5 separate regions of the Homo sapiens genome follow, and regions 1, 3, 4 and 5 are each linked to region 2. The links are contacts of gene promoters, found by promoter capture Hi-C in blood cells and fetal thymus (Javierre and others, 2016). All regions are on one chromosome and are shown on one strand. The core of a region is centred on a gene start or on the middle of the fragment in contact, and the rest is flanking DNA. Distances in the headings are between cores, read along the strand shown. Region 1 holds the start of KRTAP9-4 (keratin associated protein 9-4). Region 2 holds the start of KRTAP2-4 (keratin associated protein 2-4). Region 3 has its middle 6.8 kb from the start of KRTAP9-1. Region 4 holds the start of KRTAP9-3 (keratin associated protein 9-3). Region 5 has its middle 12 kb from the start of KRTAP9-7.

Evidence for each region. The method cuts DNA at HindIII sites, captures the fragments that hold promoters and counts their contacts. A CHiCAGO score of 5 or more calls a contact.
Region 1: a contact is called between a fragment that was not itself captured here and the fragment with the promoter of KRTAP2-4 in region 2, in 2 of 17 cell types (total CD8 T cells and naive B cells). The highest score is 5.2, in total CD8 T cells.
Region 3: a fragment that was not itself captured here is called in contact with the fragment with the promoter of KRTAP2-4 in region 2 in 1 of 17 cell types (activated CD4 T cells); the score reaches 5.0 in activated CD4 T cells.
Region 4: a fragment that was not itself captured here is called in contact with the fragment with the promoter of KRTAP2-4 in region 2 in 1 of 17 cell types (naive B cells); the score reaches 5.2 in naive B cells.
Region 5: a contact is called between a fragment that was not itself captured here and the fragment with the promoter of KRTAP2-4 in region 2, in 1 of 17 cell types (total B cells). The highest score is 5.9, in total B cells.

Annotation. Positions count from the first base shown.
Region 1 is chr17:41,249,349-41,254,844 of GRCh38, reverse strand. It overlaps KRTAP9-4 (keratin associated protein 9-4), which reads right to left and starts at 5,158. Exons shown (of 1, transcript NM_033191.3): 1 at 4,192-5,158. The coding sequence starts at 5,124. The coding sequence ends at 4,660. RefSeq lists an enhancer at 4,877-5,431. The HindIII fragment of the contact is 1,395 bases long and covers 2,305-3,699 here.
Region 2 is chr17:41,062,410-41,067,906 of GRCh38, reverse strand. It overlaps KRTAP2-4 (keratin associated protein 2-4), which reads left to right and starts at 2,028. Exons shown (of 1, transcript NM_033184.4): 1 at 2,028-2,791. The coding sequence starts at 2,062. The coding sequence ends at 2,448. RefSeq lists enhancers at 1,758-2,294, 2,295-2,832. The HindIII fragment of the contact is 6,863 bases long and covers 1-3,023 here.
Region 3 is chr17:41,194,210-41,199,125 of GRCh38, reverse strand. No RefSeq gene overlaps it. Among named protein-coding and RNA genes, the nearest start is that of KRTAP9-1, 6.8 kb to the right of the region's middle. The HindIII fragment of the contact is 1,378 bases long and covers 1,079-2,456 here.
Region 4 is chr17:41,230,697-41,235,795 of GRCh38, reverse strand. It overlaps KRTAP9-3 (keratin associated protein 9-3), which reads right to left and starts at 3,347. Exons shown (of 1, transcript NM_031962.3): 1 at 2,342-3,347. The coding sequence starts at 3,294. The coding sequence ends at 2,815. The HindIII fragment of the contact is 5,484 bases long and covers 473-5,099 here.
Region 5 is chr17:41,285,507-41,290,341 of GRCh38, reverse strand. No RefSeq gene overlaps it. Among named protein-coding and RNA genes, the nearest start is that of KRTAP9-7, 12 kb to the right of the region's middle. The HindIII fragment of the contact is 390 bases long and covers 1,972-2,361 here.

The DNA of each region.
Region 1 (5,496 bases), core at 1,753-4,252, 190 kb before region 2:
TTCAGTTATTTGAACGTCACTTGGGAAGAGGGTGTCTGTCACAGTGTGTTCCATGTGGCAGAGCCGATCGAGAGCAGGTGGATGCAGAGAAATCCACTGGGATTTAGACAGCATCAAGCAATCTACGCCCAGGGGTGAGCATTCATTCTCACTTGTCTGCGAGTGTGGGGATTACCGGGATGAGAATGTAGAACTTTCTATGACATAACTGCTTGAGATTCAGGCCAACGTGCATAAGCTGTGGCTCTAGCCATAACCCTGGTTACTAGCACAGTCAGTATCATTTCTTCTCTTTCTTTCTTAGACGGAGTCTTTCTCTGTCGCCTAGACTGGAGTGCAGTGGCGTGATCTCGGCTCACTGCAACGTCTGATTCCTCGATTCAGGGGATTCACCTGCCTCAGCCTCCCGAGTAGCTGCCACTACAGATGCCGGCCACCATGCCCGGCTAATTTTTGTATTTTTAGTAGAGAGAGGGTTTCACCATATTTGTCAGGCTGGTCTCGAACTCCTGACCTTGTGAGCTGCCTGCCTCGGCCTCCCAAAGTGCTGATATTACAGGCATGAGCCACCATCCACAGCCTCTCCTTCTATTTAATGAATTAATTAGATGAGTTGAGATGACACCTGATTCATCGTGGAGTTCTAACATGTTTAAAACATTTTCTAGGAATTACCATTCATTTCAGAGGAATGCAAATTATTAATTTCCAACTTGATACATTATTATATTGTAAATACATCTATGTCCCCATTACATCTATGTTAGAAAATAGAAATTAATCCCATTCTCTCCCAATTATATCCTCTTACTCATTCCCAAAGACAGCTAATCACTCTGTCAAGTTGTAATCCTATAGCTAACTTTTGGCTTTAAAAAATATTCATGTAAATAAAAATTACAGTATTTGCTTCTCTATTTCTTTAGCATAATCAAAAGTAATCGTTATTGCATAGTCACTTTGGACTCTTCATGTCAGGAGAGCAGCAGACAGAGAAAGGAGTTACTATTTGGTGAGGGGTAATTATCCTCAAGCCACATAGTGTAGGAGAATGTATCTATAGCTCAGGTGATTTACTGAGTATATTAACTTACTAGCAGTGCCATGGTAAATTACTGCAAACCAAGTGGCTTAAATTTATTTTTTCACAGTTCCAAAGGCCTCTAGTCTGGAATTAAGCTGTTGGCAATGTTGTTTTCATCTGAAGCCTGCGAGGGAAGTATCTGTTCCAGGTCTCTCTCCTTGACTTGTAGATGTCTATCATTTCCATGTGTGTTTGACATAAGTTTTCTACTATATGCATACTGTCTCTGAATTTCCCCCTTGTGTATAGATATCAGTCATATTTAATCAGAAGCCTAATTGTTTCCAATATGACCTTTTCTTATCACATAACATTTTAAATGATTCTATTTGAACATGAATTTTGGAGGACACAAATTAACCCATAACACTGCAGAATCTCATAGTGTGTCCATGCCCAGTGATAACCACAAAACAGTAAAAACAGTAATCACAGCGGACAGTGGTATAGTAACCAGGGGCTCAGACCCTTCAGGAAGGATGCTCTGAGCTACTCCCTCAGGCAGTTATCTAGACAAACAAGAGTGCTGGCCAGGGGTGAAGGGAGAATAGGACTGGTGGTAATTAATGGAGCTTATGAATCTCAGGTGCACTGTATTATAGCAGCAGTAAGTGTAGCTTATTTCATTGGCCTTCATTTTATATCTCACTTCCTCCCCCAGCTTTTCGTTTCCTTCTTCATTTTTCTTTCTTTCTTTTTCTTCAATCACCCCTTCTCCTTCCTTCCTTCATGTTTTTTTTTGGTTCCTTTATCCCTTCCCTTCCCTTTCCTTTTCCTTCCTTTCTTCCTCCCTTCTCTTTTTCTTTTTTGTTTCTTTTCTCTTTCCTCCTCTCATCTTCTGTTCCTTCTCTTCCTCTCCTCTGCTTCTTCCTTCTTTTAGAGCTTGTGGCTCTCCATCACATTTAAACAGCAAAGATTTGACTTGAGTGGAGCTAATTGTAGATCTCAGACAAGTTTTCGTAAGTGCGCCCATATATCTTGCATGTTAGTGTGCTTGGATTAATTTCCATCTGTCAGAGTCCGCATCTCTGTGGCCAAGGGCTCTTGTATTGCAGCTGTAGAAAGTCATGCCACCTGTGAATGCAACACAGAGAAAAACACTCAACCAATGATTCTGGAGAGCTGATTTATAAAGACTCTAGCTTCCTCATTCCTGAAGTAGGATAATTCTAGCTGTGTGTTTTTCATCATTTCTGATAGTTTTCCCTTTAGTTTAAGCTTTAGTTGGTGACTGTGATACTGACTTTATAGTGTACCCTTTTCTGTATCACTTCCCCAATTCCTACCGGTGTGATCTGCACTTCCCAGTAAACTAGTTTCACTGGAATCTTTTCTTCAAAGTCTTTTCGGGAGAAACTAATCTATGACATTATGTTAACTCCCTCAGCCTCAATTTTCTTATCTCTACGCTGGGAATATTAATACCTATTCTGAAAGTTTGTTAAAGAGTTAATAATAATGTACACAAAGTGTTTAGCAAATACCCATCCTATAGCAGGCAATCCAGAACATATTAGTGTTTCTTGTTCAGAAAATTACCAATTTTAATGTTGAAGATAGGAATATTTTTGTAATAATTAACTAGATCAACTAAATACTTTTTTTCCTAGCTGTATTGAGGTATAATTGACAAATAAAAGTTGTATCTATTTCAGGTATACAAGGTGATGTTCTGATATATATATTCCTTGTGAATAATATGTTTATTAGGTCACGAAGCTACCATTTCCTTTTAATTTTTGTGGTGTGAACATTTAAGATCTACCTTCTTGGTAAATTTCAGGTATATGATAAAGTGTTATTAACTATAGTCACATTACTGTACAGTAGACATGCTGAACTTATTCATCTTTCATAAATGATGCTAGTCAAAGAGAATGTCCTAGTTTTCATCTCCTTTACTTCAACCCTGAACGATGATCACAGTAAGTGGCCGTTGTCTCTTAGCCAAGTCTTCAGAGCATTCTAGATTCACAGTCTCAGAAGTTGGCATCTGTCATGGAAATCTACATTTTTAGCTGATCAGAGGTAATTCTAGCACTCCAGTGCTGGTAGGAGGTCCGAAGAAGGTGACCCAGGTCCCCAACTTTTATATTTCTCTCAGAGCCTGTATCAATCAATCTTTCCATGGGTGAATGCTTAGCTTACATCGGTTCAGGACCCAAAGCACTAACCTCTGTCTATTATGACTTCTATGAATGCACAAGTTCTACTTTGCTCCTTTCTTACATTCTTCTGATTTCCCTGGAAACACAAGTTTTTCATTTCTTTGAATGCTTCCTATTGGCCTCACAAAATGCAGAAGGCTGTTTCATTCCCTTACTTGGCTCAGAGATTATGGATTGTGCCAAGTCTTACATGCCCATTGTGTAGTTTCTCAATTCTCAGCTTTGTTCTTACATAATTTCCCTCATAACATTACAATTAGGGGACAAATTGTCTTAATGTGGCAAAATGTATGGTCTGCATTTTACAAGAAATAACTTAGTTTCATTTACTTCATCAATAGGTATTCAGGAGATGAAGGCTGTATAAGTATTTTATTTACATGATATTGACAACAAGTTTCTTCAGATGAGACTCTCTCTCATGAGTCCACAATAAATTCCCAAGCTTTTTTTGATGTAGATGAATTGAATGAGTGGCTGGTCAGAGGCTGAGACAAAAAGAGCTCCCTGCATTCAGGGCAGCCATTAAATGCAGTCCCTGCTGCCATATCACGCAGCTGTTTCTCACTGAGGTGTGGGAAATTGGGAATTTTTTGTAAACAAAAACGTTATCTGCAAATATAAGAGATTATTTGTCCTATTGTTAAAAAAACTCAAGTATATGACTTGCTAATACTTACTTCCAATGTCATTTCTACTATATTGAGAGTTAAATGTAAGTGTCCTTGGGCAGAAAGAGAGGACCTCAGCTTGGACAAGAGTCTGCCCTTTACTAGCTACATAACATCACACATTAAATTGTTCTCAGCTGAAAAAATGGAGGTAATAACACACGACCATCTGTTTTGAGAATCAAATTGGATAATACCTATGGTATGTGATATGTGTGTAAATCTCATATCAGGAATGCTTTCATATAAAACAAAACACCATATGAGATGAGGATGGTTCAGAGTTTATTCAGAAACATATAGCTAAGAATCTCTGCTGGTAGCAGAAACATAACCCAAAGTTATGAAAAGAAGAAAGAAGGATACAAGAACCATGAGGAGGATATTGAAAACAAAAATATGATTGCAAAGATTATTGATCAGTTGCAGAAACCTAAATTCCTTAGAAGCAGAGAATGAAGCTCTTGACTTTTGAGTCAAAGCTGAGACCATGACTCAAAATTGAGAACACACGAAGCTGGCACATGATCCACAAAGTGTAAGGAAAAAGAGAATCAGGATGAAGTATTCTGCCCTCCCTCAAGTAGATTCCCAAGATTTTAAACAGGTAGAGAATTCATAAAAATTTGGGTGAGAGCATGGTGGCTGTCAGCAGCAAATTAAATTAGTCCCCCAAAAGATAAGTCAGTTGAGCAGAAAGTTGTTGTGTGAGGATGGTGGTTCTCTTGGGACTTGATCAGCAGCAAAAAGGCTGACAGCAGCTGGACACACAGGTGGGCTGGAAGCAAGTGGTCTCACAGCAGGCTGGGCGGCAGCAGGGCTGGCAGCAGTTGGAGCCACAGCTCTGGTTTAGGCAACCAGGCAGGCAGACAGTTGTGGGGTAGTAGCAGGTTCTTCTGCAGTACACAGGTGCACAGGAGCTGCTCTGGTCACAGCTGGACCCACAGCAGGTGGGCTGGCAGCAGGGTGTGCTGCAGCAGGAAGGCTGGCAGCAGCTGGTCACACAGGTGGGCTGGCAGCAGGTGTTTTGACAGCAAGTTGGGCGGCAGCAAGGCTGGCAGCAGCTGGAAACACAGCAGGAGGGCTGGCAGCAGGGTGTGCTGCTGCAGGTGGTCACAGTGGTGGGCTTCCAGCAGGTGGTCCTGCAGCAGGTGGTCCTGCAGCATGTAGGCTGACAGCAAGGGGAGCAACAGTGGGTCATGGTGTCAGGGGTAGAGGGTGGGCTTCTGTTCAGAGGTGAGTTTCCCAGAATCTGATGACCCCTTGCAATCTGGACCTTTTATACACCTGGCCTCCAAAGTTTCCACCAATCAGCAGGACTTTTCCTTGTTTCCGTTTACATTGTTTTCCCAGTCCGTTTGTGATTCTCAAAGGGTAGTTGTTTCCTTAAGGTTAAACAGATTAAGGTTTAATCTGTTTCTTAATTGTGAATTACTCATAGACACTTTGTTTCAGATAAAAGGAAGGCAATCTCATCATCAGCATCATTCCTGTTCTGACCATCATCTGGTCATGTGATAGTTCCTGTTGATCTGGGAGGCTCAGGAAGTTCTCTCTGGCCAGCCTCATGTTT
Region 2 (5,497 bases), core at 779-3,278:
GAAGAAACTGCCCAAATTAGGTGTGTTACTTTGCAAAATTGCATGGCCCAGGACATCTTAACCGCTTATCAGGGCAGAACCTGTGCATTAATTAAAACTGAATTTTGTGTATATATCCCTGATTACTCTCACAATGTAACACAGGCCATGTGGGCCCTAGATACCCAGATTTCTGCTATAGAATCTCTATCTTATGACCCTGTAACCACATGGTTTAATCAACTCCTGAGTGCTTGGAAAAACTTTCTATACAGTACAATTGTTGTTACATTCATTATTCTTTTTTGTTGTAGTAGTTTATGTTGCTGCTGAAACATCTGGTTGCAATGCTCCTCTGCATATCCTAGCCCCAGGGAAATCTCAGAAGAATGGTGTGATTAGAATGTAAGGGCTATTCAAGGGTATGCTGAGGTGGAGGGTATGGCAGACACATCTGGCAGCAATAACTTAACTTAAGCATACCCTGAGAATGATCCTACAATCAAAGAAGAATGTATGCTTGGAGTTCTGAGCTAAGGATCTGGGAGTGGCCAACTTGGAGATCCACTCCTTATCTATGAAGGACATTTGAATCCCCACCTCATCCATTAGAACACAGGTCATACTGGGGATTGAGGCCCTTTGTTTTGGATTAAATGGAGGTTGTTAGGTGGAGGGTTCTAATGAAAATACTGTGTGAACTGCATGCTTTTTACAAATAATAGCAGTTCTCCTGTCCAGATACCACCACTGGACCACCCTTGTATGTAAGTTCCACTAATAAACCCTGCATCATGTTAGCTTTCTCCAGGTCCCTTCTCTAGCTCTCAGACACATTGTCATACTTAGTGGAGTCAATGGGGGTCCAGGATGACAATGTGTCATCTGGGCAAAACATTTCCCTAATTCTCTTCCAGTACCACTTCTAACCTTGCTGCTGAAAGGAAAGTTCATTACTTATTTTTTTAAATCTGTGTTTAATATGTATAAATGTAAGAGGTTCAAATGCAGCATTGTTACATGGATATATTGCATAGTGGCATGAAGTCTGGGCTTCTACTTTAATATATGTTTTCTTTCCTGTCTAAAGACCATGGTTTACTGAATCCAATGAGCATAAAACTCATAGTAGAGGCTACTTACTGCAGACTGAGGAGACCTGGATCTCAGACCTCATATGGTGACCTCATTGTGTGACCTTGGTACACTCTCAGGACCTCAGCTGTAGAGTGAGGGCATAGGCCTACATATTCTCCGCAATCCCTTCCCGGACTCTACAGATGCAACGACTAATTCCAAACAAATTACAAATATAATAATTGCAATGGATCCTTGAAGAGGGTTTTACAATCAAGGTAGAAGTTGAGTTTGGATTGGAAGGATGAGGAGGGCATTCCAGGTGAATGATGACACATCAAAACCAAGGCAGGAAAGCCCAGGTCCTAGTCAGGGGAGAGTGACCACACCAGTGGCCAGGGATCTGCATTTCGTGTGGTCCCTGCTCATATGAAAAACCACAAGCCTATCTTTAAGTGAGTCATGGAAGGAGCTATCTGTGAAGCAGATGACTACTGGTCTGCACTAGGATGATGCAATTAACCTGCTACCATCATGCCCATGTGCATTAATAAGGCAAGTCACTGCTTGGGTGCCGGTGATGGGAGCCTTTGAAGACAAGGAAGAACATGCTAATTTTAGCGCCAAAGGGCAGAGCGATTAGACACTAATTTAGAAAACACATTCTTTTCTCTCTTATGGGTTAGGAATATTTCAAAGGAAAATTAATCAGAAGTGAATCCAATGTCTAAATTTAGTGAGGATAAACAATACAAGAAAATGAGCGAATATTTGTGGTGTATGTACATGAATATGTATGAGGTGAAGAGTGACCAAAATACCATTAGTCAATGCTAAATCTTCACTTAATTGGCCAGAAGATGCACAAGAAAATGATCATATGTTGAAGGGTCATCAGCTCCCAGCCAGGGTATATAAAGGGCCCAGAGGGGGAGGAGGACATTCACACCTGAGAACATCCAGCTCCTCTCAATAGCCCAACCCACACCAGCCTCAGACACCACCATGACCGGCTCCTGCTGCGGCTCCACCTTGTCCTCCCTGAGCTACGGGGGAGGCTGCTGCCAGCCCTGCTGCTGCCGCGACCCCTGCTGCTGCCGCCCCGTGACCTGCCAGACCACCGTGTGCCGCCCCGTGACCTGCGTGCCCCGCTGCACGCGCCCCATCTGCGAGCCCTGCCGCCGCCCGGTGTGCTGCGACCCCTGCTCCCTGCAGGAAGGCTGCTGCCGCCCCATCACCTGCTGCCCCTCGTCGTGCACGGCTGTGGTGTGCAGGCCCTGCTGCTGGGCCACCACCTGCTGCCAGCCTGTGTCTGTGCAGTCCCCCTGCTGCCGGCCCCCCTGCGGCCAGCCGACCCCTTGCAGCACCACCTGCAGGACCTCCTCCTGCTGAGACCCCAATGCCCCCACAGAGCAATACACTGAAGCCTAAACATCTATCTGGTGTTTTTAAAAAGTTAAAAGAAAAATAGATTTTTTTTCACAAGGTGACAATAGTGATTTTTACCATCTGGATACAGCCTGGTGTAAGCAGACGTCCATTACCACCCTCACCCACATTTTCAGGTGTCTACATCAGCCTTAGTCATTATGGATAGTAAATCGACCTTTAAGAATTCCTGGGGTGGACTTTGCAAACACATTCTACAACCTGATGGTTTTTACTGCTCAAACTGTCACCATCATCTTTTGCAATGTGTTGCTCACTGTTGTCAATAAACTAATTTTTCCTGGCATAGCAGACTGCCCTGCTCCCTGATTTGTTCGTTAGTGCATGTTTATTAGCGTACACAGATAAGCAAGATTTTGGAACCTGCACAAGGGAAACAAAGCTCAACCTAAGCAAAACCTTATCCATAGAAATCTCATCTATTCAGTCATTCAGGAATTGTTTATCAAGGGACCTCCAGTTGACAGGTGCTGCCTGATTAGTGATGAACAAGCTACATGCCTTGTATCCAAGAAGCTTATGGTCTAATGGAATAGACAAAAGGAAAGACAATGTTCATGAAGAGGGGTAGAAGTGGGAATAGCATATGCCAAGCCCAGAATGACCACTGGTAGTAAACTGACCAGCACAGCGCATCTCATCTTCTTACCACAGTTCCTAGAGTAGCATTTTTCAAAGTGTGGCCCATGCGTCATACACAATAGAATCTCTTGCAATTGCCTATTAAAATGCACATTCTTAGGCCCCAAACCAAACCTAATGAATCAAAATCTCTGGGAGTGGGGCCCAAGGCTGTTTATTTTCTATCACTTCCATGTAATTCATTAGAATTTCAGGACCATTATTTCAGAGGAAGACCAGGATTTGAGCTCCTTGAGGGCTTAACAAGCATGGCCTGGAAGCCTTCCAAGAATAGTCACAAGGACAAGCCACAATGAAGACACCCAAAGTGAAGAAAAAAATGTAATATAATAATAAGTATGAAACAGCACCTGCTAAACTGTAATCAGAAGAATCGGTTTGGCAGAGAAGTGAATGTAAATGAATGTGCAAAAAAACAGTATCTTGAGTTTGTCATAGGTGGAATAAAATGACAACAAAAAAAGAGAGACAAAAAGTAAGAGATAAGGGATGAATAAAAAGTGAAGAGGGGAGGCAAGGCAATGAATAGGAGGAAGAGTGAAGAGGAAGATGATGGAGATGATGAGAAAGACAGAAGAGGAACAGAGACAGGCACTAGGATTCCTGGTACAAGTATTTGGTATTTGAAGATGTTACAGGAGAGCTAGGCCAGTCCTCAGATTACCCATGTGGCTAGGAAGTGTGTGCACATCAGGTGGTCTGCTGCCTGTCCTTTGCCCATCTCTATAGATCCATGTCTCACTGCTCCCCACTAAGATTCACTTCAAGCAACACTGACCTTATAGTTATTAAACATTTGCAGTTCCAAATGTTTCGCTTTTCCTCATGTTCTTTCACTTATCTGTTCTTTTACACACTCTTTCTCTTCACCTTCATCACCTACTTAACTCTGATTCATTTCCAAGATTCAATTCAGTCTTCTCCAGTAGTCCTGTCCCAACCCCTGTATCACACAAACACATGTGCAAATGCATACACACACACACACACACACACACACACATACAGGTTAGGAGCTCTCAGCAAGTTCCAATAGCTTACCTCCCTCCCCATAAGGCATTGTATTGAGATTATATGTTTTTTTGCCTCCAAGGAGGGGACCACAGTTTGTTTTTGGCTTCCAATACTGAGCTCAAAGTTTAATACGTAGCCGGTACTTAATTTCTGTTTGTTTAGTTGTCAAAATAAAAGGAAATTGTCTTTACCACAAGAATTTTAAAAGGTAGATAATTATTTAAAGAAAAAATTTTGGCATTAGTGTAACTTAACCTCTCTGACTCTCGAGTTTTCTCATCCGCAAAATGGGAAAAGCAACATTTACCAATGTAGATTGCTAGGGAAGTTAAATAACAATTATAACTTTTTATGTATGCAAGATGCCTGGCACATAGTTAAATGCCCAGTAACATTCATTTATATTCCTTGTGGAGCATTTGGACATCACTGTATCGAACAGGCTCAAAAGATGTGCTATCTACTACATATCAACTCACTGGGAATGGGAACAAATTCAGGGGAGGGCTTTACTAACCAAACTTAAATTGTAATTTTTTTTCAGGATAGTCTACATCTACCAGTAGGAATAGATTTTCTAATAAATATAATGAAGAAGGCAAAAAAAAAAACCCACAACAACTTGGCATCAGATTAAGGCTGTCTCAGAATGAAAATAATCTTTAAAAATTCATTCTACAAGTCCACAGGAATGAGTCCTAGATTATAGGATTTATGAATAGGAGTGCAGCATCAGGTAAAAGAAGGATTGAGCAACATGTAAGTATCTGATGGTTCGACTCTTTCTTTCACATTGAACCTTCCAAGGGAATTAAACAACTCAAAGCTGTAATAGACCTCAAAAGATTACTTTGCCTTCCCTGACTTTAGGCAAATGAATATCTAAAAAACTCAGATGAAATTTTTAAAAAAATTCTAGCAACAAATTCCACCAGTCCCCTGATCATTTAGTTTTTCTGTCTCTCACAACTAAACTCTTTTCTTTTCTAATTATATCTAATTAATTATATCCCTTTCTCTGTCTTCCATGTTTGTATGGATTTTATGATAAGCCAGCCTCTGAAGAACACCAGGCACCGAAGACTCTGCCCATTTTACAGATGAGGAAACCTGGCTAAGGGTAAGTCATTTACTCTAAGTTAGACAACTGCAAAGAGGTGGAGAAAGGACTGGAATCCTTCTTTATCTTCTCCATTTTCCTCCTGCCCTGTGCCCGTCAATATTCCCCATCCCATCCCTGACTCTTATGATTGGAGGATATTTTTAAGATTATTTCTGAGAACGAAGTCCTTAAGGAATGTATTTTCTAATTTTAGAATTTTAATAATTTTCCTAA
Region 3 (4,916 bases), core at 518-3,017, 130 kb before region 2:
CGAACTCCTGACCTCAGGCAGTCCACCTGCCTCAGCCTCCCAAAGTGCTGGGATTACAGGCGTGAGCCACCATGCCCCGATGAAACAGTTTTAAGAAGCATTTTATCTTTAAAAGGTAGAAGAACATGGGTTTTGGAGATCGGACAAACATCTGACCACTTCCACTGTTACCACGAGATCATGCATCAGACAGAGCTGAGCAGCTTTTTTTTTAAAAAAAAATTTACTTCCATAAGTTTTTGGGGAACAGGTGGTATTTGGTTACATGAGTATGTTCTTTAGTGGTGATTTGTGAGATTCTGGTGCACCCATCACCCGAGTAGTGTATGCTGAACCCAATTTGTAGTCTTTTATCCATCACCCCTTCCATCTTTTCCCCTGAGTCCCCAAAGTCCATTGTATCATTCTTATGCCTTTGCATCCTCATAGCTAGCTCCCACTTACAAGATTTCAGGTTCGGTTTTCCATTCCTGAATTACTTCTCTTAGAATAATAGTCTCCAATTCCATCCAGATTGCTGTGTCATTAATTCATTCCTTTCTATGGCTGAGTAGTATTCCATCATATATACAACCATTTCTTTTTCCACTCATTGATTGATGGGCATTTGGGCTGGTTTCATATTTTTTGCAATTGCAAATTGTGCTGTTATAAACATGCACGTGCAAGTATCTTTTTCGTATAATGACTTCTTTTCCTCTGGGTAGATATCCAGTTTTGGGATTGCTGGATCAAATGGTAGTTCTACTTTTAGTTCTTTAAGGAATCTCCACACTATTTTCCACAGTGGTTGTACCAGTTTACATTCCCAGCATGAGCAGCTTTTTAAATTAAAAAAAAAAAAACTAACTTCTTGGTGAATCTGGATTCATAATATCTGTACTCCATTCTGAGGGGACTTCAGATGTTGGCATGATTTTACTCCAGTATGTGTTTTAAAAAGAAAAGGAAGGACACTCCCTAAATCCAATCCCTAGAAGTTCTATCAACATCCTCTCAAGCCTTTATATCATTTATTTATACTTATATCAAGTACTCTCAAGCTTTTATATTAATTAGACAGGTACAGTAGAAAGCTTTTAGGTTGGGTAGATTCTGATATCGATTTTCAGAAGATTCCAATATTCTTATCTAAGCTGAAAGAAGGTATTGAAACATCATACAAATACCGTGGGAATCTCTCAGAACAACTTACATAATACAGTGTTATCAGTCTTCAAAATTTCTATAATTTCATATAATATCAGTATTATCAGTCTTCAAAATTTCTATAATTTCATGAAGTTCTTAATATCTTAGAAACAAATCTACACTTGTTAACCTCAGTGGGAATCATTATACATGTTCCTCTGATTCTTTTTCCATTTTTCCACATTTTACACATGAGCAAACTCTGAACATAACAAACCTCACAATTCTCCAGTGAGTCAATCTGATGTTGATAGGACTTCCAATATTGGCAGTTCTGGGGGCTCTCTCACACTTCTTAAACTATCAATGTTATAGCTGGGATTGGAATTAGGGAGTGTCATTCCTTTTCTTTTTAAAACACATACTGGAGTAAAATCATGCCAACATCTGCCATCTAGGGGGAATTCTGAATGGAGGTTCTCCAGTGGAAAAATAGGGAAGTTTTGTTACATACATTGTACACTGGACAGAGCTAAAGAAAATGAAAAACCATTTCGTGAAAGCATTACTTGGTCTTGTCCATAATAATATTATATTTTAATAGAGGACTGAAGTGTGGAATTGTCTTTTATGTTTAATGGCAGTCATAGGAAAAATTGCAGTAGGATGTGCATAAACCATCAGAACTCACTGAGGGATCCCAGGGGAAGGAGTGTGATGGGGGAATCACACAAACAGGTGTATGATGTCATGTTACTGTCTAATGATAACAAAGAGCCCATGCCAGTTTCTGAAGACAGACCTGCATGGCTGCAGCTTATATTTTTATTTGGAAGAAAGAGAAAGTGGACAAAATCCGGAGTTGCCTAAAATATAATTTGTATGCTATGGCCTGAAACTTCATAAATGATCCATAAATATGATGGCAAAAGTAAACAAAATTAAAAATGTTTTGTAGGTCTTTATGAGGCAAAGGCATAAATGAGGTTGTATCAGAAGTTGGGGAACATGGGAGGGGCTGCTTCAAGACCTGCAGAAATTACTGTAAGTTGATTGAAGATGGTTTTAAAAAGAACCTGGGACTTATAAATGGGGGTGGAGGTTTGGTGAGCCATGGCAGCTTAGAGAAAAGAGAGAGTCTGAGACAAATTCAGAAGTGCTGGTTACGACACATTGCATGGGGGAGGGAGAGCCACCCAAGGCACTTGAATTTTCCAGAGTGCCTGGCAAAATCTGTTTTAGAACAAATGCATTAGATGCCATTCCGTATTATTAGAACTTCTAGAATATTAGAATGTTCTAAATATTTGCTGAGAAAATAAGCTTTTAGGGCAATACAAGGGATCCTTGTGCTGATGGAGCTACTCTGTGTCTTGAAGGTATCAATGTCACCATTGGACTTGTGATACCGTACTGTAGTTTTGCAAGAAGTTATCATTGGGGGGAAACTTGGTAAAGAGTACAGAGGTTTCTTTGTATTATTTCTTGCAACTGCATGTGAATCTACAATTATCTCAAAAAGTTTAATTATAAAAAAGAAAATAACCTTTGGTTATAATTTCACTTTTCATGCAGGTATATCTATAGGAAGAAAATATCCTGGTCAAAAAGACCCATGAAAATGTCATCTTCTCTTTAAGTTATTTCTCATGTAGATTCTTCAACTGGTACTAATGTTATGGGCTTGGTGAAAGTGAGCCTGCTCCCAGAGGTGGTTTCACTCTTAGAATGTAAATAATTTCAGTTTCTGGAGTGTGCAAGGCTGAAGGCCAGATACTGGTACGTTTTTCAAGGTAGTATTTACTACCCTGGAAGACAGCCTTCCTGTTTCCTCCAAAGGATGCCTAATAAGTATGTATGGCACTTTGTGTTTCTTTTTAAATTTTACATATTTTACATATTTTGTTGCTTATGGACTTCAAAAATCAGCGAATGGTCAATTTTGAATCCAACAAAAACATTTGGGAACTTTTGAAGTATCTCAAGAACTGAAGTGACCTCTGAAGTCCAATAATAATAACCAATTACCAGACACTGCGAATCCTTGGCACAATGTTCTAATGATTGTCCAGCCAACGCTTGCATCCCAATAGTGTTTAGAATTCACATTGCCAGAATAATTTTTGCATTAGCTCCTTCCACTCTAGGCCTCTGGCAATTTTTCCTCATTGGGATCATTTGCAAATGGAATGAACCGAAAGGAATTCCTGTGAGGTTCCTACTCTTACTAGCCATCTTTTCTCCCAGTGCTTCGTCCCAAAAAAATCACCTTAAATTTCTTCTAAGCTCTGGCATCTGCCTTCTTACTGAACAGATGACATTCTTACCAGGCGTATTTCTTCTCCCCAGCCTTTGCAGACTTTAAGATGCTCACTGTTTCCCAAGGTCTTCATCACTGACTTTATTTCTTTATTTTTTTTCACTTTTATTTTAAGTTCAAGGGTACATGTGCAGGACTTTTTTTTTTTTTCAGATGGAGTTTAGATCTTGTTGCCCAGGCTGGAGCACAATGGTGCGATCTCAGCTCACTGCAACCTCCGCCTCCTGGGTTCAAGCCATTCTCCTGCCTCAGCCTCCCAAGCAGCTGGGATTACAGGCATGCGCCACCACACCCGGCTAATTTTGTATTTTCAGTAGAGACAGGCTTTCTCTATGTTGGTCAGGCTGGTCTCGAACTCCTGACCTCAGGTGATCCACTCACCTCGGCCTCCCAAAGTTTTGGGATTACAGGCGTGAGCCACCACGCCCGGCTGCAGGTTTGTTATATAGGTAAACTGCATGTTGCAGGGTTTGGTGTACAGATTATTTTGTCACCCAGGTAATCAGCATAGTACCTGACAGGCAGTTTTTCAATCCTCACCCCCCTCCCACCCTCCACCCTTAAGTAGACACAGGTATCTCTGTTGTCCCTATCTTTGTGTCCATATTTACTCAATTTTTAGCTCCTACTTATAAGTGGAGATAATAAGCAGTATTTAATTTTCTGTTCCGGTGTTAGTTTGCTTAGGATAATGGCCTCCAGCTCCATCTATGTTGCTGCAAAGGGCATGATCTCATTCTTTTTTTATGCCTGTGTAGTATTCCATGGCATACATATACCACATTTTCTTTATCTAGTCTACCATTGATAAGCATTTAGGTTGATTCCATGTCTTTGCTATTGTGAAGACCATCACTGACCTTATTAACCACAACTTCTGCTTTGTTAGAATTGAGTTCACAGAACTTTTGCTGGATATTCACAATCTTACCTATTCTATTTTTTTCCCCATTTCATCTCAACTTTATTTTTTTCATTTTAACTTTTAACTGAAAGTTTTTGGGCAAAAATCTACATAGCCATGATATGATGCAATGTGTTTTGGATATCAGTTTACTTTTTTTAAAATTGTACTTTAATTTCTGGGATACATGTGCAGAACATGCAGGTTTATTACATAGGTATACATGTGTCATGGTGGTTTGCTGCACCTATCAACCCGTAATCTAGGTTTTAAGCCTGGCATGCATTAGCTATTTGTCCTAATACTCTCCCTCTTCTTGCCCTCCACCCTAGACAGGCTCTGGTGTATGTTGTTCCCCTCCCTGTGTCCATGTGTTCTCATTGTTCAACTCCCACTTATGAGTGAGAACATGTGGTGTTTGGTTTTCTGTTCCTGTGCCAATTTGCTGAGGATGATGGCTTCCAGCTTCATCCATGTCCCTGCAAATGACATGATCTCAATCTTTTTTATGGCTGCATAGTATTCCATGGTGTATATGTGCCACATTTTCTTTACCCAGTC
Region 4 (5,099 bases), core at 1,965-4,464, 170 kb before region 2:
CCTGTCCGTCCTTCCTTCCTTCCTTCTCTCTGTCTTTCTGTTTTTCTTTCCTTCTTTTCTCTTTCCTTCTCCTCTCATCTTCTGTCCCTTCTCTTCCTCTGCTTCCTCTCTTCCTCTTCTTCTTTCTCCTAGAGCTTGTGGCTGTCCATTCTATTTAAGTAGCAAATATTTGACTTGAGTGGAGCTAGTTGTAGATCGTAGACAAGTTTTCATGACTGCACCCGTATATCTTGCATGTTAGTGTGCTTGGATCAATTTCTATCTGTCAAAATCTGCATCTCTGTGCCTAAGGGCTCTTGTATTGCAGCTGTAGAAAGTCATGCCACCTGTGAATGCAATACAGAGAAAAACACTCAACCAATGATTCTGGAGAGCTGATTTATAAAGACTCTAGCTTCCTCATTCCTGAAGTAGGATAATACCAGCTATGTGTTTTTCATCATTTCTGATAATTTTCACTTTAGTTTAAGCTTTAGTTGGTGACTGTGAAACTGACTTAATAGTGTACCCTTTTCTGTATCACTTCCCCAGTCCCTACCAGTATGATCTGCACTTCCCAGTAAACTAGTTTCACTGGAATTTTTTTTCAGAGTCTCTTCTGGGAGAAACTCATCTATGACTATACGTTAACTCAGCCTCAAATTTCTCATCTCTACAAGAGGAACATTAATACCTATTTTGAAAGTTTGTTAAATAGTTAATAATAATGTACACAAAGCATTTATCCAGTACCCATCATAGAGCAGGCAACACAGAATTAGTGTTTTTTGTTCAGAAAATTCCCAAGTTTTATGTTGAAGATAAGAATATTTTTGTATTAATTAAATAGATCAACTAAATACGTTTTTTTCTAGCTGTATTGAGGTATAATTGACAAACAAAAATTGTGTACATTTCAGGTATAGAAGGTGATGCTCTGATATATATATTGATTGTGAATAACATATTTATTAGGTCACTTAGTTACCATTTCCTTTTTATTTTTCTGGTGTGAATATTTAAGATCTACCTTCTCAGTAAATTTCAGGTATATGATAAAGTGTTTTTAACTATAGTCATATTACTGTACATTAGACCTACTGAACTTATTCATCTTTCATAACTGATGCTAGTCAAAGAGAATGTCCTAGTTTTCATCTCCTTTACTTCATCCCTGAACGATGATGACAGTAAGTGGCTGTTGTCTCTTAGCCAAGTCTTCAGAGCATTCTAGATTCACAGTCTCGGAAGTTGGCATCTGTCATGGAAATCTACATTTTTAGCTCATCAGAGGTATTTCTACCACTCCCCTGCTGGTAGGAGGCCCCAAGAAGGTGCCCCAGGTCCCCGACTTTTCAATTTCTCTCAGAGCCAGCATCAATCAATCCTTTCATGAGTGAATGGTTATCTTACATCAGTTCAGGACCCGAAGCACCAACCTCTGTCTATTATGTCTTCTATGAATGCACAAGTTCTACCTTGCTCCTTTCTTACATTCTTCTGATTTCCGTGGAAAAAGAAGTTTTTCATTTCTTTAGATTCTTCATATTGGCCTCACAAAATGTGGAAGGTTGTTTTTATTCCCTTCCTTAGCTCAGAGATTATGGGTTGTGCCAAGTCTTACATGCCCATTGCATAGTTTCTCAATTCCCAGCTTTGTTCTTACATAATTTTACTCATAACACTTCAAGTAGGGGACAAATTGTCTTAACGTGGCATAACGTATGGTCTGTATTTTACAATGAATAACTTAGTTTCATTTACTTTGTCAATTGGTATTCAGGAGACCGATGCTGTATAAGAATTTTATTTACATCACACTGAGAATAAGTTTCTTCAGATGAGGCTCCGTCTCCTGAGTCCACAATAAATTCTCAAGCATTTTTTGATGCAGATGAATTGAATGAATGGCTGGTCAGAGGCTCAGACAAAAAGATCTCTGCATTCAGGGCAGCCATTAAATGCATATCATGCAGCCTTTGCTCACTGAGGTGTGGGGAACTACTTTGGGATTTTTTTGTGTGTGAACAAAAGTGTTATCTGCAAATATGTCAGATTATTCCTCTCATTGTTAAATAAACTCAAGTACATGTCTTGCTAGTGCTGACTTCCAGTGTCTTTTCTACTATATTGGGAGTTAAACGTAAGTGTCCTTGGGCAGAAAGAGAGGACCTCACCTTTGACCAGAGTCTGCCCTTTACTAGCTACATAACATCACACATTAAATTGTTCTCAGCTGAAAAAATGGAGTTAATAATACACGACCATCTGTTTTGAGAATCAAATTGGATAATACCTATGGTATGTGATATGTGTGTAAATCCCATATCAGGAATGCTTTCAAATAAAACAAAACACTATATGAGATGAAGATGGTTCAGAGTTTATTCAGAAACATATAGGTAAGAATCTCTGCTACCAGAGACATAACCCAAAGTTATCGTGAAAAGAAGAAAGAAGGATACAAGAACCATGAGAAGGATATTTAAAATGAAAATATAATTGCAAAGATGATTGATCAGTTGCAGAAACCTAAATTCCTTAGAAGCAAAGAATGAAGCTCTTGATTTTTGAGACAAAGCTGAGATCATGACTCCAAATTAAGAACAGACGAAGCTGGCACATGATCCACAAGGTGTAAGGAAAGAGGGAATGAGGATGAAGTATTCTGCCCTCCCTCAAGCAGATTCCCAAGATTTTAAACATGTAGAGAATTCATAAAAATTTGGGTGAGAGCATGGTGGCTGTCAGCAGCAAAGTAAATTAGTCCCTCAAAAGACAAGTCAGTTGAGCTGAAGGTTGTTGTGTGAGGATGGTAGTTCTCTTGGGAGTTGATTAGCAGCAAGAAGGCTGGCAGCAGCTGTACACACAGGTGGGCTGGAAACAAGTGGTCCTGCAGCAGGTGGTCTCACAGCAGGCTGGGCGGCAGCAGGGCTGGCAGCAGTTGGAGCCACAGCTCTGGTTTAGGCAACCAGGCAGACAAACACTTGTGGGGTGGTAGCAGGTTCTTCTGCAGTACACAGGTGCACAGGAGCTGCTCTGACCACAGCTGGACCCACAGCATGTGGGCTGGCAGCAGGGTGTGCTACAGCAGGAAGGCTGGCAGCAGCTGGTCACACAGATGGGCTGGCAGCAGGTGGTCCTACAGCAGGTGTTTTGACAGCAAGTTGGGTGGCAGCAAGGCTGGCAGCAGCTGGAAACACAGCAGGAGGGCTGACAGCAGGGTGTGCTGCTGCAGGTGGTCACAGTGGTGGGCTGCCAGCAGGTGGTCCTGCAGCAGGTAGGCTGACAGCAAGGGGAGCAACAGTGGGTCATGGTGTCAGGGATGGAGGGTGGGCTTCTGTTAAGAGGTGAGTTTCCCAAAATCTGATGACCCCTTGCAATCTGGACCTTTTATACACCTGGCCTCCAAAGTTTCCACCAATCAGCAGGACTTTTCCTTGTTGCTGTTTACATTGTTTTCCACAGTCCATTTGGGATTGTCAAAGGGGAAGTTGTTACTGAAATCTTATGAACCTTTTAAACTAAGGGTTTAATCTGTTTCTTAATTGTGAGTTACTCATAGAAAGTTTGTTTCAGATAAAAGGAAGCCCGTCTCATCATCAGCATCATTCCTGCTCTGACCATCATCTGGTCATGTGACAGTTCCTGTTGATCCGGGGGGCTCAGGAAGTTCTCTCTGGCCAGCCTCATGTTTGGCTGTATATAGACTTGGAAGTGTCTGTGGGGAGAAGCATGATGCTGATATATTTACAGTGACAAAATGAATCCATGCCTGGGCCCAAGACTATTCACCCACCAAATTCTGACTCAAGACTAACAGGCATCTCTTTGTGCCACCCACATCATCTGTGTCTTTCAGTTCTTTGAATGTCACTTGGGAAGACGGTGACTGCACAGTGTGTTCCATGCGACAGAGCAGATCGAGAACAGGTGGATGCAGAGAAATCTGCTGAGATTTAGACAGCATCAAGCAATGTATGCCCTAGGACGACCATTCATTCTGACTTGTCTGGGAGTGTGGGGATTTCCGGGATGAGAATGGAGGACTTTCTATCACGTAACTTCTTGAGATTCAGGCCAACCAGCATGTGCTCTGGCTCTAGCCCTAAACCTAGTTACTAGCAGTAACTAGAAGTAAGCGTTGAAATTCAGGCCAACCAGCATGTGCTGTGGCTCTAGCCCTAAACCTAGTTACTAGCAGTAACTAGAAGAAGAAGTAAGTAGAAGTAATTTCTTCTATTTCTTTTCAATGAAGGGATTAGATGAGTTGAGATGACACCTGATTCATCGTGGAGTTCTAACATGTTGAAAACATTGTCTAGGTATATCATTCACTTGAGAAGAATGCAAATTATTAATTTCCAACCTGATATAGTATTACATTGTAAATACATCTATGTCCCCATTACCAGGTTAGGAAATAGAAATTAATGCCATTCTCTCCCAATTATATCCGCTTACTCATTTCCAAACAGCTAATCACTCTATCAAGTTATAATCCAGTAGATGACTTTGGCTTTTTAAAATTTCCATGTGAATAAAAATTATAGTATTTGCTTCTCTGTTTCTTTGTTATAATCAAAAGGAATCGTTATCGCCTAGTCATTTTGGACTCTTCCCGTCAGCAGAGCAGCAGACAGAGAAAGGAGTTACTATTTGGTGAGGGGTAATTATCTTTAAGCCATATAGTGTAGCAGAATATATCTATAGCTCAGGATACTTAGTAAGTGTATTAACTTACCAGCACTGCCATAATAAATTACTGTAAACCAAGTGGCTTAAATTTATCTTTTCACAGTTCAGAAATTAAGGTTTTGGCAATGTTGTTTTCATCTGAAGCCTGTGAGGGAAGTACATGTTCCAGGTCTCTCTCCTTGACTTGTTGATGTCTATCATTTCCATGTGTGTTTGATATAATTTTTCTGTTATATGCATGCTGTCTCTGAATTTCCCCCTTTTATATAGACATCAGTCATATTTAATCAGAGGCCTAATTGTTTCCAATATGACCTTGCCTTATCACATAACACTTTAAATGATTCTATTTGAATATGAGTTTTGGGGGACACAAATTAACCCATAACACTGGAGAATCTCATAGTGTGTCCATGTCCAGT
Region 5 (4,835 bases), core at 917-3,416, 220 kb before region 2:
ATTATCAGTACAAAGCAATAGGCCTTTTCCTGTTTAATGGCATACTCACTTTGTTTACAACCATTTCATTAAAAAACACATTTTCACCATGTTTTCTGCTGTTTTGTTTTTGTTTTTGTTTTTGTTTTTTTCCAACCAAAAAGCATCTGGAGCTTCTTTCATTCTTCTCATGGACTCCTACCATCCCTGTTTAATGACTTGTTCACGAATCTTTCTTCCTAAGGCTAAACCTTTGAAGTTGTAGCTATGCAGTTATTTTTGATCTACAAAAATGGAAACTTCATATGGCTCAAACTCGTATTCTCTACTTGGCCTTTATTTTTTATTTTTTTAAGTAGAGATGGGGTTTCACCACGTTGGCCAGGCTGGTTTTGAACTCCTGACCTCAAGTGATCTGCCTGCCTTGCCCTCCCAAAGTGCTGGGATTACAGGCACAAGCCACCACGCCTGACCTACTTGGACTTTTTCAATCAAATCCCAGCCCATAGCTCCTTATAACTCCCTCTGGCATCTTTATAGTATACTGAAAAGTATTTTAAAAGGCCTTAGGATACTAATCACACACAGTAAAGTATTTTAAAAAGAATTAAGTCAACATAAGCCATCTTTTCTCCCAGTGTCTATTAGAATGAAATTTCCCCTGTCATTTTTCTGATTGTTTCCCTATCTATTTAATAACTAGGGTACACGTCAGACTTGTCCTGAGAAGTTCCATTCCTGAGGAAAAGCTATGCATGATTGTCTTATTTTGGAAATCTCAAATGTGGGATTCGTGTAATGGGCTTTGATAAAGGATGTTAAGGGGCAAAGTTAAGGCAGCCTTGTAAAGGTCAACTTGGAAACTAAATATCAGTAGGGAGTTATCTCAGTGGCTATAAGTTAAGACAACAGAATAAAAACTGATATTTGAGACATAAAAATGGCCCAAAAGATGGGTGTAATGAGCCCATGAGTCCCCAGTATAACATGAAACTTGCCCATCTGCGTGGTGTACGGCATTTGGTGTTACTCATGTTGGTCTCATCAGTTTGCCCACCTAAATAAATTCATCTTACAACAATAGTTCTATAACATCTAGAAGTAAGTTCCCTCCTGTAGCCCACTTCATCAGAAACTTCTTGGCAACACCTGAACCTAGCTGGAACTGGAAAAATATTTGATGGTAGTGATTTCCTGATAAATAGTCTAGAGCTGTTGCAAACAAAATCCAAGGATTGCTCTTTTTAGACACAGTCTTGCTCTGTCGCACAGTCTAGAGTGCAGTGGCTTGATGTTGGCTCACTGCAACCTCCGCCTCCTGGGTTCAAGCGATTCTCCTGCCTCAGCCTGCCGAGTAGCTGAGATTGCAGGTGCGTGTCACCACACCCCACTAATTTTTTGCATTTTTAATAGAGACGGGGTTTCACCACATTTGTCAGGCTGGTTTTGAACTCCTGACCTCAAGTGATCCACCCACCTTGGCCTCCCAAAGTGCTAGGATTACAGGTGTGAGCCACTGTGCCTGGTTAAAGGGTTGCTGTTTAAATGAACTATTTGCTTATGCTCTAAGTCAGCATGGATGGGATCCATAGATCTTTCCCGAAGTCTTAAAAATTAGTCTCTTGACTTAGTGGCATGGGAATAGATGTGAAAGAACTTTGTTTTTTTAAAAATATTAATTAATTAATTAATTTTTGAGACAAAGTCTTGCTCTTTCACCCAGGCTGGAGTGCAGTGGCGCGATCTCAGCTCACTGCAAACTCTGCCTCCCAGGTTCAAGTGATTTTCGTGCCTAAGCCTCCCGAGTAGCTGGGAATACAGGTGCACACTGCCAAGCCTGGTTAATTTTGTATTTTTAGTAGAGACGGGTTTTGCCATGTTGGCCAGGCTGGTCTCGAACTCCTGACCTCAAATGATCCTCCTGCCTTGGCCTTTCAAAGTGCTGGGATTACAGGTGTGAGCCACTGTGCCAGGCCAAAATGGGAAAAAGCTTTGTAAAATATAAAATATCCTTTAAATTTAAGAGCTTATGAAGGATATACTGCACACATAATCTAGGTCACGAAAGGATATGCAAGATGAGTATAGATTACTAGGTGATAAATTGGGAAATGCCTTAGTTGCAAAGAAGATAATTCAAATTATAAATACAATGAAGAAATGTGCAGGAAAGATATTTTAGAGGTGGCAAAATTAACCAGTTATTAAGACAATCAGCAGAGGTGGTGGACAGGGATGGTGAATCTCATGCATGTCCAATTTCTAGTGATACTCATTAGTTAAATCCAAACCCTCACTAGTGGCCATGAAGTCCAATGTTTCTTTAAAAAGGCAGTAAGGACCAATGAAGATTTTTTTCCTTGTCCATAGTTTAGTCAAGCTTCTGAACCTTCTCATAGGCCCATGGGTGCACTTCCTTGTAAAATCCAGTTTTGTAAAATTTTAGCAAAGAGCCCTGCTAAATAGGTTTAGCAAGAACTCCCCATCCTCGATATCTGATCACCCTTAATAGCGGATCAGATCTCTTATCTGCCACCATTCTCCAAGTGATGTTTGATCACCCTCGCCTGTCTTCAGCAAGAGCACTTTTAGGTCAGTTTAGCCAAAATTTCCCTACTGGTGATGCTTCCTCTTAGTAATTTTCCATCCACTGACCGCCACCCTGCTCCTTGGCTGTAAATTCTCACTTGCCCATGCTATGTTAGGAGATGAGTCCAATCTCTGTCTCCCAATGCAAGACCCTGTTATGGTGGTTCCTTTGTTTACTGCAGTGTTCCTGAATAAAGTCTCCCTTACCAGGCTTTCACAAGTGCCATTGAATAATTTTTTTTTTAACAAGACTATGATGAATTTTTAAAAGCCAAATCCCTATTGTTTCCCTGATAACATATTATTTCACCAGAAAAATAAATATAAGAAATTCATTTTAAATGTATCTCAAACCATCAGAAAAGGGCTTAACCTTATTGAACTGAGCTACTAGGAAAGAGGAGGAAAGAAGAAGAGTGGAAACCATCGGTCATTCAGTGCAAGCATGTCCGGCTGTCACCAATAAGCTAGCTGTACCTGTCTTAGGACAGAGCTGTATGAAGGAAGTTAATATTTACCAGTTAAAAGAAAAACGAAAGAGGAAAACAGTGATTCAGCACTAAACAGAATTAAGAGTCAGTCATTTGAAATATAGAAAGCCCTAGAAATACCATTACAAACAACAATAATAACAATAAGCCCCCTATTGTATAATAACAAATTGTGCAATAGGTAAAAGATAGATTGTTTAAAGTCTTCTTGGATGTTGTAAGTTATTTTCAGGGCCAAAAAGGAAAAAACTGCTCTTGCAATTCAAGTTCGGGTATATATTTTGCAAATGCTGGCATGCTCAATGCTTCCTGAAGGAGAGGGAGCTATCCTTATTTTGATCAGTTCAGATTGAATGAAAATTTTCTCTGATGCTAATATAGATCCAGTCTCCCAAATTTTAGGTTCCCCACGATTCTTCAAACATCACCAATAAGAGTTCAATGTTCTTGGCTGGGTGTGGTGGCTCACACCTGTAATCCCAGCACTTTGGGAGGCCAGTGTGGGCCTCCCAAAGATCATGAGGTCAAGAGATCGAGACCATCCTGGCCAACATGGTGAAACATGGGCATGGTGGCGGGCACCTGTAATCCCAGCTACTCAGGAGGCTGAAGCAGGAGAATTGCTTGAACCTTGGAGGTGGAGGTTGCAGTGAGCCGAGATCGCACCACTGCACTCCAGCCTGGTGACAGAGCGAGACTTATCTCAAAAAAAAAAAAAAAAAAAAAAAAAAAAAAGAGCTCAGTGTTCAATGTTCTCACTTGGAAGATGTCTCAGTATCTGAGAAGTAGTTTGTCCACGGTCAGGAAACTAGAACTCATTTAAAGAAACTAAATTCTCTCCTATGCTGTTTACATCCATTTGGGGCCACTATTCCCCTTTCCAGCTGTCCTTCTACACAATTCTGTTCAAATATTATTCTTTGAATATATAAGTAATATTAAGAAGTCCTCCTTTCTTATGTCTTAATCATAATTTTACCAGTAGATCTTAAATGAAATCCCTTATATTCTTATCATCACCTATTTGTGTAGGTACAGTTCTTTCATAGTGGACTTAATGTTGGTCTTAGTGAGTGGTTTGTTTTATATATTAAGTATACTTATGCTTTGCTATATTTATTACTATTGGGCACTTAAAGGGGAATGCTTGGAAAAAACTGGGTTGATTTTGCTAGGAATCAACCTTAAAGGGCAGAAGATTATTGAAATTTGACCCTTTCCATCTTAATCTTTGTTCCAAGCAGGAATCTGACTGGGGCTGAAGAGCTTGGTTTTTACCTTGTCCTTATCTTGCATAAGGAATGCTTTTGTTTAGAAAGAGGATCTGAAGGTTTTCTGGTCTGGGACAGGCCACAGCCACTGTGGAACGCAGTGATAATAAAGGATGGATAAGGCTTGCATGCTTTCCTTAGCGAGTTTATACAATCTATCCAATTTAGGCTTTCTTGATTTATATTCTAGAATAATGTCTATATTTGTTTATTTAAGTGGGAATCATTTTAATTTTATTTCTGATTTTTAATCCTATATTTTCTGCATTAGTTATCTCCAAACCTACAATTTAATTAAATTTATCCCAGCGTTTGATCTTAGAATATAACATTCATTCTTGTTTCCTGCATATTCACAAGAAAAATCCCAAGCTGTGTTATCTGAACCATCTGTCAGAAGAGGTTCCAAGGAGAAGGTGTCCAGTGATGAAAGAGCCGAGTTTTCCCTATTTTGAATGTAGGAAACACAGGCTGGTTTTTCTGAAATTAATCCCTGTTCTTTCCA